Regions from separate parts of the Homo sapiens genome. Here regions 2 and 3 are each linked to region 1. The links are contacts of gene promoters, found by promoter capture Hi-C in human tissues and cell types (Jung and others, 2019). All regions are on one chromosome and are shown on one strand. The core of a region is centred on a gene start or on the middle of the fragment in contact, and the rest is flanking DNA. Distances in the headings are between cores, read along the strand shown.

The links. The method cuts DNA at HindIII sites, captures the fragments that hold promoters and counts their contacts. A contact is called where the count stands out against the background at its distance.
Region 2: a contact is called between a fragment that was not itself captured here and the fragment with the promoter of KANSL2 in region 1, in 1 of the 25 tissues and cell types used here (dorsolateral prefrontal cortex).
Region 3: a fragment that was not itself captured here is called in contact with the fragment with the promoter of KANSL2 in region 1 in 1 of the 25 tissues and cell types used here (hippocampus).

Annotation. Positions count from the first base shown.
Region 1 is chr12:48,679,351-48,683,756 of GRCh38, forward strand. KANSL2 (KAT8 regulatory NSL complex subunit 2) reads right to left here and starts at 2,888. Exons shown (of 10, transcript NM_017822.4): 1 at 2,837-2,888; 2 at 2,032-2,291; 3 at 305-483. The coding sequence starts at 2,282. RefSeq lists an enhancer at 2,586-2,855 and silencers at 2,936-3,145, 3,186-3,235. The HindIII fragment of the contact is 9,488 bases long and covers 1-4,406 here.
Region 2 is chr12:48,163,653-48,167,724 of GRCh38, forward strand. No RefSeq gene overlaps it. Among named protein-coding and RNA genes, the nearest start is that of ASB8, 8.2 kb to the left of the region's middle. RefSeq lists silencers at 1,414-1,708, 1,474-1,768. The HindIII fragment of the contact is 4,714 bases long and covers 379-4,072 here.
Region 3 is chr12:48,084,606-48,089,302 of GRCh38, forward strand. It overlaps SENP1 (SUMO specific peptidase 1), which reads right to left. Exons shown (of 18, transcript NM_001267594.2): 5 at 4,196-4,355. LOC101927180 (V-type proton ATPase subunit F-like) reads left to right here. Exons shown (of 1, transcript XM_047429952.1): 1 at 1-2,568. The coding sequence starts at 457. The coding sequence ends at 816. Among named protein-coding and RNA genes, the nearest start is that of SENP1, 19 kb to the right of the region's middle. The HindIII fragment of the contact is 5,780 bases long and covers 1-4,453 here.

The DNA of each region.
Region 1 (4,406 bases), core at 1,638-4,137:
GTAAACCATGCCCTCTCAAACAGAAAAATCAACTTAAAATTACTGTTTCCTGAAATTACCTAACAAAGCTGCTGAGCATTAAAAAAGCAATGAAAGAAATGGTCACCAACTCAGGAAAGTAAACCTAGGCAAACACAACTTCAAATTCAAAAGAACTGGTAAACAACAAAGCAATCCCAGCATTCTCACCAAATTCCTGATGAATTAACAATATTGCCAAATAGATCAAGGCATTGTGCTAACCCAAAATAGTTCCCCCTTAACTTTCTTCCTCCTTTTTCATTCCAGGAGAGAAGGTCCTTACCTAGTATTCGGCTGGCTTCACTGCGACTACTTTCTGGAGTCTGAGACCCCAGCTCTGTCTTAGCATATGAGCTCAGCTGGCACAGGAGTGTTTCACCCACAGGCCCTGGGTTGGTCTTCTTCATTTGAGCATGAAGTGCCAGGGCATTCCTACGGACATGTTCAGCACAGAAGGACACCCTGAAGAGACAAAACATTAATATTTTATAAGTTCCTTCTTGAAAGCGTTCAATAATGTTCACAGTCCCTAATCTTTAAATCATTTTTAGGGAATTAAAATGACTATTACATTCATTTCTAAAAATGCAAGTCAGAGGAATTTAACTGGCCCAAGGTCAACTCATTTGACTTTATTAAAGGGAAATAACAGGACGGATGAAGTGGTTCACCCTTGTAATCCCAGCACTTTGGGAGGCTGAGGCAAGGGATTGGGTCTTGCTCTGTTGCCCAGGCTAAAGTGCAGTGGTGCAATCATAGTTCACTGTAGCCTTAAACTGCTTGGTTCAAGCGATCCTCCTGCCTCAGCCTCAAAGTAGCTAGAACTATAGGCATGCACCACTGTGCCCAGCAAATTTTTTTTAGTTTTTTGTAGAAACGAAGTCTATGTTGCCAAGTCTGGTCTGGAACTCCCAGGCTCAAGTGATCCTCCCACCTCAGCCTCCCAAGTAGTGGGGACTACATGTCCACGCCACTATGCCCAGCGAGTTTTTTAATCTTCTGTAGAGACGGGGTCTCACTGTATTGCCTGGGTTGGTCTCCAACTCCTGGCCTCAAGTGATCCTCCTCCCGTGGCCTCCCAAAGTGCTGGGATTACAGGCATGAGCCACTGCGACCAGCCAGGGACACAATTTTAAAACTATAAGATACGTAAAAAATTATCTAGTCAGGTTATGTTTTTGCATGGATACCTTTGCATACATGATGAAAACTATGAAGCCTCTTACAGAAGAATACACACATATATAACTTTGCATGTTATTTAACAAAATTCATGGACAGCCAAATAGAGCCACACACCCCTCCATTAAGAAGAATTTTAGGGGCCAGGTGCGGTGGCTCACTCCTGTAATCCCAACACTCTGGGAGGCCGAGGCGGATGGATCACCTGAGGTCAGCAGTTCAAAACAAGCCTGGCCAACATGGTGAAACCCCGTCTCTACTAAAAAGTACAAAAATTAGCCGGGCATAGTGGCGCACGCCTTAAGTCCCAACTACTTAGGAGGCAGGAGAATCGCTTGAACCTGGAAGGAGGAGGTTGCAGTGAGCCGAGATCTCCACTGCACTCCAGCCTGGGGAATAAAGCAAGAATCTGTGCGCCGCCCCCCCGCCAAAAAATTAACTTTAGGGCCGGGCGCGGTCGCTCACGCCTGTAATCCCAGCACTCTGGGAGGCCGAGATGGGAGGATACCTTGAGGCCAGGAGTTTGAGACCGGCCTGGTCAAAATAGCAAGACCCCATCTCTCTTAAAAAAAAAAAAAAAAAAAAAAAGACTAATTTAGAATATGCCTTTATTTTACAGATAAGGGAAAAGAACCAAAGAGGTGAACTAAGTAATCCAACTCAAGGGTCTTTCCAGTCTTCACCGTTTTTTCAGTTTTCCAAGGATACAACCATAACCCCAAATTTACAAGGACAAAATCTCAAACGCGGCAGCTATGCTGAAGCCCGCATCATATCACATACCCCCTCGCTTTAAGAAAAACGACATATATATCTATACATATATACCCATCTTTCTTCTCTGGCTTTGGGGCAGCATTGGGACATCTTTTTCCATTCTTCGTCGATATATAACTACACTGCTTGAAGGGTGCATTCTTGTCTTCAAGGATATGCTTAATGCAAAACTCCTGCCCCTCCAGACGAGGGTGAGAGCATGGACGATGAGTGAATGCACAAGACAGAGGTTCCTGAGACCTGGGCACTGGAGTGATCCTCCCCCGATTGGTTGGCAAGACGTGAATCCGAATCCTGTTCATAACCAAAACCTGCGGGGTCAAACGAAAGACCAAAAAGCCCTTACCCTTCCCGAAAATTCCTGCTCCACACAGATCGCGCGGACAGTTTCCAAAGGACATGCAGAAGTCGTCCCCGTAAGGTACGCTCCGTAAGTCCCCGCCGCCCTCCCCAAGTCTCCACAGGCATCTGTGGCTTTGCCTCCCTTTAGCGTGTCCCTCCATGCCCGGCCCCACCCCGAACCACACCACGCTGAATGTATCTTCAGGACTCGCACAGCTGCAGCACGAAGGGAAGCGACAACACCAGCCCCACGCGGCGGCCACGCCGCCTCCCCGCACGCCGCCTTTGTCCCGGCCTGCCTCAGAGCGCACGACTGGGCCTGGCCTCGGAAGCCTATGCGAGCGCCATTTTGTCCTACGGCTCCAGTCACCGGAGATCCTGGCTCCTGGAAGCCTGCAGGAAGGAGACTGACTCTGACACTGCTTTGAGGCGGAGTAGCAGCTCTGAGCTGACAAAAAGAGCGAAATAGCAGCCCAACCGCAAGAGCTTAGAGGAAAGAGCACCGCCATCTTACCTCAGGAGCTGCGCTGCGCCGCACTCTGCCGCGCCGCTCGCCCTTCTCTAGTGGCGCCAGCGGCTCTCAGATCGGCCTCGCCCCTTTCCGGACTCCTGGCTACTCATTGGCTACCGCTCGTATGACAGGATGTCGCCATTGGCCGAGACCAACTACCTATCGTGTCTGGGAGGGCGGAGCGCTGAGAAAATGCGAGGTTGGGGTGGCTAAGACAGACTGTCTGTCAGCAACTCCGCCCGGAGGAGAGTGAGCCGGGGAAGGGGGCGGAGAGCGGGCTGCGGGGCGGGTTGCCAGCTAATATTTTTCCACCTTGCAGCGTGGCTCGTTTTCCGGCTACTTTTGGACCCTCAGTCTGTGGTCCTAGGCTGCTGTTCCCTCACCACTGTACACAGCTAGTATAAAATCAGACAGACAGGCCGGGCGCGGTGGCTCACGCCTGTAATCCCAACACTTTGGGAGGCTGAGGCTGGCAGATCACCTGAGGTCGGGAGCTCGAGTCCAGCCTGAGCAACATGGAGAAACGCCGTCTCTACTAAAAATACAAAATTAGCCGGGCGTGGTGGTGCACGCCTGTAATTCCAGCTACTCGGGAGGCTGAGACAGGAGAATCTCTTGAACCTGGGAGGCGGAGATTGCGGTGAGCCGATATCGCGCCATTGCACTCCAGCCTGGGCAACAAGAGCGAAACTCCGTCTCAAAAAAATATATAAATAAAAAATAAATCAGACAGAGGCTGGAGGATCACTGTTTACACATAAAAAGTCTTTAGCTTTCTTTTGTGAACAGTTCAATACATGTACTGAACATTTGGTATAGAGAACACTGAGAAACATTTTTTGGGTGTTTACTGATTCTGGGAATTACATGTATAAAGTCATTGAATTTTTCAAAGCAACCCTAAGAGGTACAGGTTAGTATTATGTCCATTTTACAGATAAGAGGACTGAGGAACAGAATGGGACCATAGCTATTAAATGGGAAAGGAAGACGAATTTGAACCCAGCCCGCATTCTTTATCCCTTATTGCCTCTTATATAGTAAAGAGCATTGGACTGAGAATAAGGAAATATTTGTTCTAGTTTAGGGCTGCTTCTCATAACTGTGTGCCCTGTCTTTAAAATTCCATGCTAAATAATGCAGGTATCATAAAAATGACAGACACAATACCAATCATACCATCCTTTAAGGATTTTTAGTTTAAAAGCATCTTTCTGTCATCTCCACCACTTGTAGAAATGATTCCTAGCTTTCTTCCCATAACCCTTCTAGACATTTTTTGCTTTCCAGCATCTCTTATCTCCTCACTGTCAGTTTAAGAAAGATGTTTTATCCATGCCTAACGAGCAAGTGAGCATGAGTCCCAGTGGAAGTGAACATAAAGATTCCACAGCCCTCAAGAAAAACACTAAGGCTGGGCGTCATGGTTCACCACTGTAATCCCAGCACTTTGAAAAGCTGAGGTGGGAAGATCACCTGAGCTCAGGAGTTCGATCCCAGCCTGGGCAATATGGAGACACCTCATCTCAAATAAATAAATAAATAAATAAATAAATAAATAAATAAATACACT
Region 2 (4,072 bases), core at 1,486-3,985, 520 kb before region 1:
TCTCTATCAGGGGTTGCCTGGCTAATGTTGATGGCAACGTTTCCCTGACACCCTTCCTAGAAAAAAGCAAGTTAAGTAAAAAGGGACCCCTTTCAAATAAGTTCTCCATCAACAAAGAAAAAGAAACAAACCAAAAGGGAGTTTGAGATACCCTAAGAGTGAAGGAAAGAGAGGGAATCAGTCAATGTTTACAAAATAGGGTAAAAAAATAAGATCCAAGTGTCAGACTAGTTGGCTAGTTGGGAAAAAATAGCTTTCTTTCAATAATGGAATATTTTACTTTACTTTGAATTTGTTCAATTTTTAGGACTATCACTTATAGCACATTCCTCATATTTAGAAATAATGTAATATTATGCAAACTTCATAAAGACCAAGATTCCAGTTCTGATAGTAGCTCTAGTTACTTTACTTGTAAAAGTAAGTACTTTTATAAGTAAAAGTAAAATTACTTACTAAAGTAAGTAATACTTTACCTGAGTCTCAGTTGTACAATGGGATGAGAGTATTAACACCTACTCCAAAAGTTAATTTCATAAAACCTAGACCACATTTGTGAAAAGTGGTTTTGTAAACTACATAAATGTTGACATGTCATCTTTATATGATTTTATATTTGTTCAAGGAGGTTACCAAATATCTCATCCTCCCAGTTACATTGTGGCGCCTTTAAAAGAGCAGAGATTTAGATTTCTATACTCATCTCTTTTGTCATTGCACAGTTCTAAACACACAATAGTTATTTAATAAATACAATGGAATTGAACTAAAATGAACAGATCTCCCAAAAATGGGAATAGTGGAGTGCCTCTATGTCCTAGTCCCTGACGTAGAAAAATTGAAAAGGAAGCTTTGGAACTAGAGCAAAGAAAAAGAAAGTTCAGAGGAAACATAATGTAAGTCTCATGAAACCTTTCATATGCTTAAACCTTGTACTAGAGAAAGTAATTCAGCAAAGAAAAGAACAGTATTAATGTGCAGCAGGGATACTCTCCCAAGACATGCCATCAGGATTAAACAAGGACTTCTTTCAGAAACTGCTCAGAGGCAGACATGCGCTCAATAGCCAAACTCTACTCTTTTTTTTTTTTCCTTTTAACTTTCCCCAGGGCTTGGGAAATTTTATGAATTATCTATTTTTTAAAAATTGGCTTTTAATCAATATTTTGTTATTATTTTTGGTCATATAGTCTACCAATATTTTCCACTATCAGAGCAATTATAAAACATTTTCAGTCTTCATAGAGAAAAATTGCCTGAAGGATTTTGAAAAAAAAAGTACAGTAAAAATACAAATAACAATTTTAATGATAATACTGAAATTATATATATATATGATACTATTTTTCCAAGAATGTAGGCATTTATAGCTAAATTACCTAGCAAATCAAGACTGAAGGGGACAAACTGGTAGGAGAGTTAATGTCGTCCAGGGGAGGGAAATTACAGAGGAAATGACTACTTGCTTGGTACAATTGGGTGGTCCAGATTAATCTGGAGAGTTCTATGAGCAAGACAAAGAGAAAAGAAAGGAAAAGAAAAAAGATCTGGTTCTCTGAATCCATTTGAGAAGCAAATTACAATCAATGTCAGAATTTTCTGCTCACCTGGGTCTATGCTATTTCTAATGGGAGTGTGTCTCCCCCTGGAGGGCAAGTAGAGCATTTGCTCCTTCTTGCTTCTTGCCCAAAGTTGAATGATTCGTTCTTGGTTCATTCATTGAGTCTTTGATTATATCATTAATTGGTTGATTGATTAATTCACCCATTAATTCAACAAATACTTATTAAGTTCTGTCACTGTGCTGTTTGTTGTGATAGACACTAAAGATCCAGCCAGCTAAGATCAAGAGAAATATGGTCCTGATCACTAGGAAAATTACAGTTTGATGTGAGAAACAAATATTAGATAGTCACCTGTATGCCTAAATAGTCACAATAGTGATGACTTCTGTAAAGGAAAAGTGCAATGGACTGACTATTTATGTCATCTCAAAGTTCATATGTTGAAATCCTAACCACCCCCCAAGGTGACAGTATTAAGAGGTGGGGCCTTCATGAAGGAGGTTATTAGGTCATAGGAGCACAGTCCTCGTGATGAGACTAGTGCCCTTCTAAAAGAGGGAACTTTGCCCCTTCCACCATATGAGGACACAGTGAGAAAGTTCTATCTATGAGCAAGTGGGGCCTCACCAGACACCAACATCTGGGATTTCTTGGACTTCCCAGCCTCCAGAGCTGTGAGAAATAAATTTCTGTTGTTTACAAGACACCCAGTTTACAGTACTTTTGTTATAGTGCCCAAATAAACAAAGAGAAATAGTAGAGAGGGTAATAGGATGATTCAGTAGAGGACCTAATTCAGGCTGGGAGGTCAAGAAAAGCTTCCCTGAGCATAGACCTGGAAGATGGGTGGAAACAACCAGGTCAAAGGTGTGGAGGTGTGGGGAGGGGGCCTCCCAGCCAATGGAGCAGGGTCAGGGTATTCAAAGACCCTAAGGAGGAAAGAGCTTAGGAACCTGGAAGACAAGGAAGAGGCCAGAATGAGAAGACAAGAAGCTGGAAAGGTAGGGAGGCTCCAGATCAGGTGCGGTCTTGGGGGACATGTTAAGGATTCTGAACTGTATCCCAAAAGAACAAGAAGCCTATCAACAGGTTTTATTCAAGTGACATGACCACATGTGTGTTTTTAAAGGACCACTTTGACTTTTTAAAGAAGAATGGATTATAGTGGAGCCAAGGCAAGGATTAAAATAGAGAAAACAGCAGCCTAAGTGATCTGGACAAAAAGTCAAGCAGGCTTAGATTTGAGTGGTGGCCATAGAAAGGGAGAGAAGGGGGTGAATTTGAAATATTTTAGTGTTAGGACTGATAGAACTTGGTGATTGGTTACAAGTTGGAGAAGGGTATTGTGGTCAAGAATGACTCCTAGGCTGGGCGCAGTGGCTCACACCTGTAATCCCACCACATTGTGAGGCCCAGGTGGGTGGATCATTTGAGGTCAGGAGTTCGAGACCAGCCTGGCCAACATGGTGAAACTCTGCCTCTACTGAAAATACAAAAATTAGCCGGGCGTGGTGATGAGTGCCTGTAATCCCAGCTACTCAGGAGGCTGAGGCAGGAGAATCGCTTGTACCCAGGAGGCGGAGGTTGTAGTGAGCTGAGATGGTGCCACTGCACTTCAGCCTGGGCAACAGAGAGAGAGAGACTCTGTGTATATATCTTTCTTTCTTTTTTTTTTTTTTTGAGATGGAGTCTTGCTCTGCTGCCCAGGCTAGAGTGCAGTGGCGCCATCTCAGTTCACTGCAAACTCCGCCTCCCAGGTTCAAGTGATTCTCCTGCCTCTGTCTCCCTAGTAGCTGGGATTACAGGGGCATGCCACCTCGCCCAGCTAATATTTGTATTTTTAGTAGAGACAGGGTTTTGCCATGTTGGCCAGGCTGGTCTCAAACTCCTGACCTCAGGTGATCTATCCACCTCAGCCTCCCAAAGTGCTAGGATTACAGGCATGAGCCACCATGCCTGGCCTATATATATATCTCTTTCTAAAAGTGTCCAAGATGGTTTAAAATGATATTCTTTGAAGACCCCTTATCCCAATTCAAAAATTTTTAATGACATAAATATAGCATTGAAACCAAAACCTAATAAAGATTATACAAAAGAGATAATTACAAACCAATATCATTTATGAATATCATAGGCAGAAATGCTTAAAAAAATTAGCAAATTGAATTAGACAGCACAGTATGTCATGACAAAGTAGAAACTGTTTTGGGAAGGTAAAGATGGTCCAATGTTAGGAAATTCATTAATATAATTAATATAATTATATCTAAGAAGGAAAGTCCTGTAATTATCTTCCTAGGTGCTGAAAAAGCATTTGAAAAAATTAAAGTTGAATTTCCTATAAAAGTAAGTTACAAAAGAAGAATGGGAGATAATTTTCTTAACATCATACAGCATCTTGTTTATCATCATCTTACTATTTTCATAGGAAAACACTGGAGGCATTCCTGTTAATGTCTGAAACAAGACAAGGATACCCACCATTACTGTAACATTAACACGAT
Region 3 (4,697 bases), core at 314-2,813, 600 kb before region 1:
ACCCAGGTGATTTTTGTATTTTTGTAGAGACAGGGTTTCACCATGTTAGCTAGGCTGATCTTGAACTCCTGACCTCAGGTAATCCGCCGGCCTCAGCTTCCCAAAGTGCTGGGATTACACATGTGAGCCACAGCACCCAGCCAATTTTGAGTTTTTTCTATGTGCTCTTTCTCATTTATCATTACCTGGAAAGTTTGAGGTACTTATTCTTAGCATAATACATTTTCTTTTTTCTTCAAGACTCAGACTAGAGAAACACAGCTGAATATTCTAAATTCAATGAAATCAACTCTTTAAAATCATTACATGTGGTCTGAATCCAAATCAGACAAGATCTAAAGAAAATCAAACAGTGCATAATTCTCTTTAAGTCTTCTTGGGTTTGTACGTGTGTTAAGAATGGGGAAATGAGAGTGGCTTCTGGTGCTCTGGGGTGAGCTCTGCCTGGCTGCAGGGATGGCGGGGAGAAGGAAGCTCATCGCAGTGATCAGAGACAAGGACACGGTGACTGGTTTCCTGCTGGGCAGCATAGGGGAGCTTAACAAGAACTGCCACCCCAATTTCCTGGTGGTGGAGAAGGATACGACCATCAATGAGATCGAAGACACTTTCCGGCAATTTCTAAACCGGGATGACACTGGCATCATCCTCATCAACCAGTACATCGCAGAGATGGTGCAGCATGCCCTGGACACCCACCAGCACTCTATCCCTACTGTCCTGGAGATCCCCTCCAAGGAGCACCCATATGAGGACGCCAAGGACTCCACCCTGCGGAGGGCCAGGGGCATGTTCACTGCCGAAGACCTGTGCTAGGGTCTTTGTGTGAGGACTCCTCACAGCCCTCAGCCCTTCCCTCATTCTCAGGCCTCTCCCCAGGCTTGCCATCAGCCTTCTTTACATTTTGAGCCTCTAATTTCCAAGTCCCTGCCCCTTCCCACTCCATTAAGAGGCTAGGTGAGGCGCTTCTAGGTTGCTGGGGCTCTGCTGTTAAAATCAAGGCTGGTTAAGGAACAGGAAGCCTGACCATCTCTCTCCACTACCTCTTCCCTGTGCTGTTACACAGTGTCATTGTTGATGTTAAATTACAGTCATATTCTTGCTTCTCTCAAAAAAAAAAAAAAAAAAAAAAAAAGAATGGGGAAATGAGCAAGGACTTAGAATTTTAGGAACAGGCTTATTTTCTTAGGATGAGTGGATGCAGCTAGGAAAAGATGGCAAGGGCAGTGCAATTGTTTGGTAAAGACATGATGGATTCTCCACAATGTCTTCTGTATTTGTGTTTCCCAGAGTATGCGTGCGCCTATGCATGTTTTTTTTAACATAAAAGATTACTCTTCTAAAGAAACAGTACAAGGGCATCCTGCAATGACAGAAAGCAAGGGTGTTACCCAAAATTCATGAGTTAAGGTCAAACAGACAGAAGCAAGCTTAAAGGGCTTCCACTAGCCAAATTTCTGAGAATGTGAGCATTAAAAGTATAACAATTATAGTGGATTACAAAATACTGAATCCATAATGACACTAAAAAAGGAACAGACAAATTCATTTGAAACATATGAAGTGTCTATTTTACAAAAACCTTGCTTTGAAAACTGGTAATGAAAAAGAAAAATCTAATCATGTATCAGGCCTTTCCCATAGGAAACACATTTCAGGGACTCTAATAGCCCCAGCTAAGGAAAAATGCAATCAGAATGCCAATTAAGAAGTGTAAAAGTGATAAAATTAGAAAAATATTATTTCATTAACTCTAATAAAACTATTATCAGGTATTAGCAAATGATATTAATTATTAGGTGATGGCTGATGTGAAATTCATCATTCATATAACGCCAAAGTAACATTATTTAGATTACATTCAAGTCACACGGGAAAAAACCTAACTGTACAATTAACCACCAGACTGTCAGTTCCTCAATCCAGAGGTCAGTCTAGCATCATGAATAATAGGAGAACCAAAACAAGATACTGTTTGTTTTTCAAATGTGATAAATGCAGCACACCTTTTAGTCACATCTAAAACCTAGCTTATAAAAAATACAGGTGATTTTTTGACAAAATAATGATACCACGAGGAAGCAACCTGCCAAATCCAAAAAGTAGAACATTATACAGAAAAGTCATGTCATTTAAAAAAAGGAGGCTGAGGCTGGGCATGGTGGCTCATGCCTATAATCCCAGGAAGGGATCGGGAGGCCAAGGAAGGCAGATCACAAGGTCTGGAGTTCGAGACTAGCCTTGCTAATATGGCGAAATGCCGTCTCTACTAAAAATACAAAAATTAGCAGGACATGGTGGCGGGCACCTGTAGTCCCAGCTACTCGGAAGGCTGAGGCAGGAGAATTGCTTGAACCTGGGAGGCGGAGGTTGCAGTGAGCCGAGATCACACCACTGCATTCCAGCCTGGCCGACAGAGCAAGGCTCCGTCTCAACAAAACAAAAAAACAAAACAAAACAAAACAAAACAAAACAAAAAAAGGCTGTTCTAGTTATAAGTGACAAAGCCAATAACTTCCAGATGCAAAACTAAACTAACTATAAAAGATACTTTTGGGTCAACTGAGAAAATTTAAATATGACTTAGGGTATAAAACAAAATTTACAAAAGAATATGTATACTATAAACTCATTTTGGAAAAAAAGTAGAGAAAAGTATGTAGAAGGATATGTACTAAGATATTACAGAGTTGATCTCAGGCTGGTGGCAATGTGATGTTTTTATTTTTTATTTTTCTTAACTATATTTTCTAAACTTTCCCAAAGTATTTGTACTACTTCTGTAATAACATTTTTTTAAAATAACAGCATGGCTTTATTGCATTAAAAAAGCCACCTGCTAAATGATGCATATAGAAAATCTTTAATGAAGACAAAATAATATCATACATTTAATAGTATACACAACATATATATCATACTATATATGAGTAAGAAAGAGTAAGAGAGAAATAGGTATAGGAAAAGGTTTGGAAGGAAACACACCAAGGAAAAGGGATTGGGATTGTGGGTAGTGGTCAAGGGATCTTCAGCTTTGCTGGTAATGTGTTGATTTCTACAATGTGAGTGTATGAGTGAATTACTGTATAATTTTTTAAAAGTTAAGTGAGGAACATGATCCCAGGGAGTATTGACACATTCCTGGAGTCCATGTGCATAAAATAATAAAAGCCATCTTGTTGGCTTCTATCAACACCATAAAGCTCAAACTTGACTAAACAGTACACTAAATAATCCCACATTCCTAAAATATACCAGGGCAGAATTTAAGTAGTCATAAATACTATTTTAAAAAAGAAATGTTTACTAATATAATAAATACTAATATAACAAAATATCTGAGGGAAAAGTTTCTAAGCCAGATTTCATCTGCCTTTAATAATCCATGTAAGTTTTGTTAGATAGAGCTTATAAAGTTGGAATAACTAGCATAAAGTTCTCTGTGACTATCTTTTTTTTTTTTTCTGAGACGAGGTCACTCTGTCACCCAGGCTGGAGCTATAGCAGCATGATCTCAGCTCACTGCAACCTCTGCCTCCCAGGTTCAAGTGATTCTCCTGCCTCAGCCTCTCAAGTAGCTGGGACTACAGGCACACACCACCATGCCTGGCTAATTTTTTTGTATTTTTAGTGGAGACAGGGTTTCACCATGTTGGCCAGGCTAGTCTGGAACTCCTGACCTCAGGTGATCCACCTGCTTCAGCCTCCCAAATTGCTAAGATTACAGGCACGAGTCACCGTGCCCGGTCTGTGACTCTTTATTTTCTAATATATAGAAGTAGCTTGGTCTACTTGACTAATGCCATGAGGTAGAGAACTGCTTTAGTTTAAGTCAGGTCTCTGCTCACTTGATAGCTGTAAAATATGTTTCTTTCCTGCTCAAATTGTGGAGATTGACTGATTTTCACTTTAAGATTTGCAAGAGCCATATTGATCTTGAAGGCTCCCAATATTCTCATATCCACCAAGATTTACTTAAAATTCTCTCTTCTAGTAAGATCTGGCTATCATCAAAATTCAGCACTAAGTAAATGAGAAGTTGAAAATGTAAAATGGATTTGTTCATATCCTTAAGGTTTAAAGTCCAAAAATGGTGTTACTCTTTTAAAATCCCAATGTAATAACTATCTACCTTTTAGTCACTTTCTCTTATGTCTGAGGAAGGGCTTGAGAACTAAGATGACAAAATACGAACCTTGAGGTCTTTCGGGTTTCGAGGTAAAGACTTCGGCTGTTTCTTGATTTTTGTAAAGATGAGCTTGACGATGGGGTAGAATTTCTCCATTGGCCATTTGCACTCTGGCCAAAGGTTCTTAAATCGCCTGAGCCAAGAAAACTGTCTGAGGAAGGATTATCTAAAAAAATAAAAGTTTGAATAAATTAAACAAATTCTACAGGTGGTTCTCCTTATGACTGCAACCATGACCAACCATTGTATTCCAAAGTAATGTGGCATGTCACCATTTCTCTCATGGAAGAAAGATCCCAGTCTCAACTGCCAGTAAAGTCTGCAGTAGGGGAACTTCTACAAACTATAATTGATTCAGCCATACTAACCTGAAAATTGATGAAGGAGCTGAATCCTGCCACAGCCATGTGCCTTATCTGCATCAATGTGACTCCGTGGTGTCCACCAAAAGTCAACATTTTACCCCAACTATATCTTGCAAGCACTCCCAGGCCTGGGCCTGAAAGAA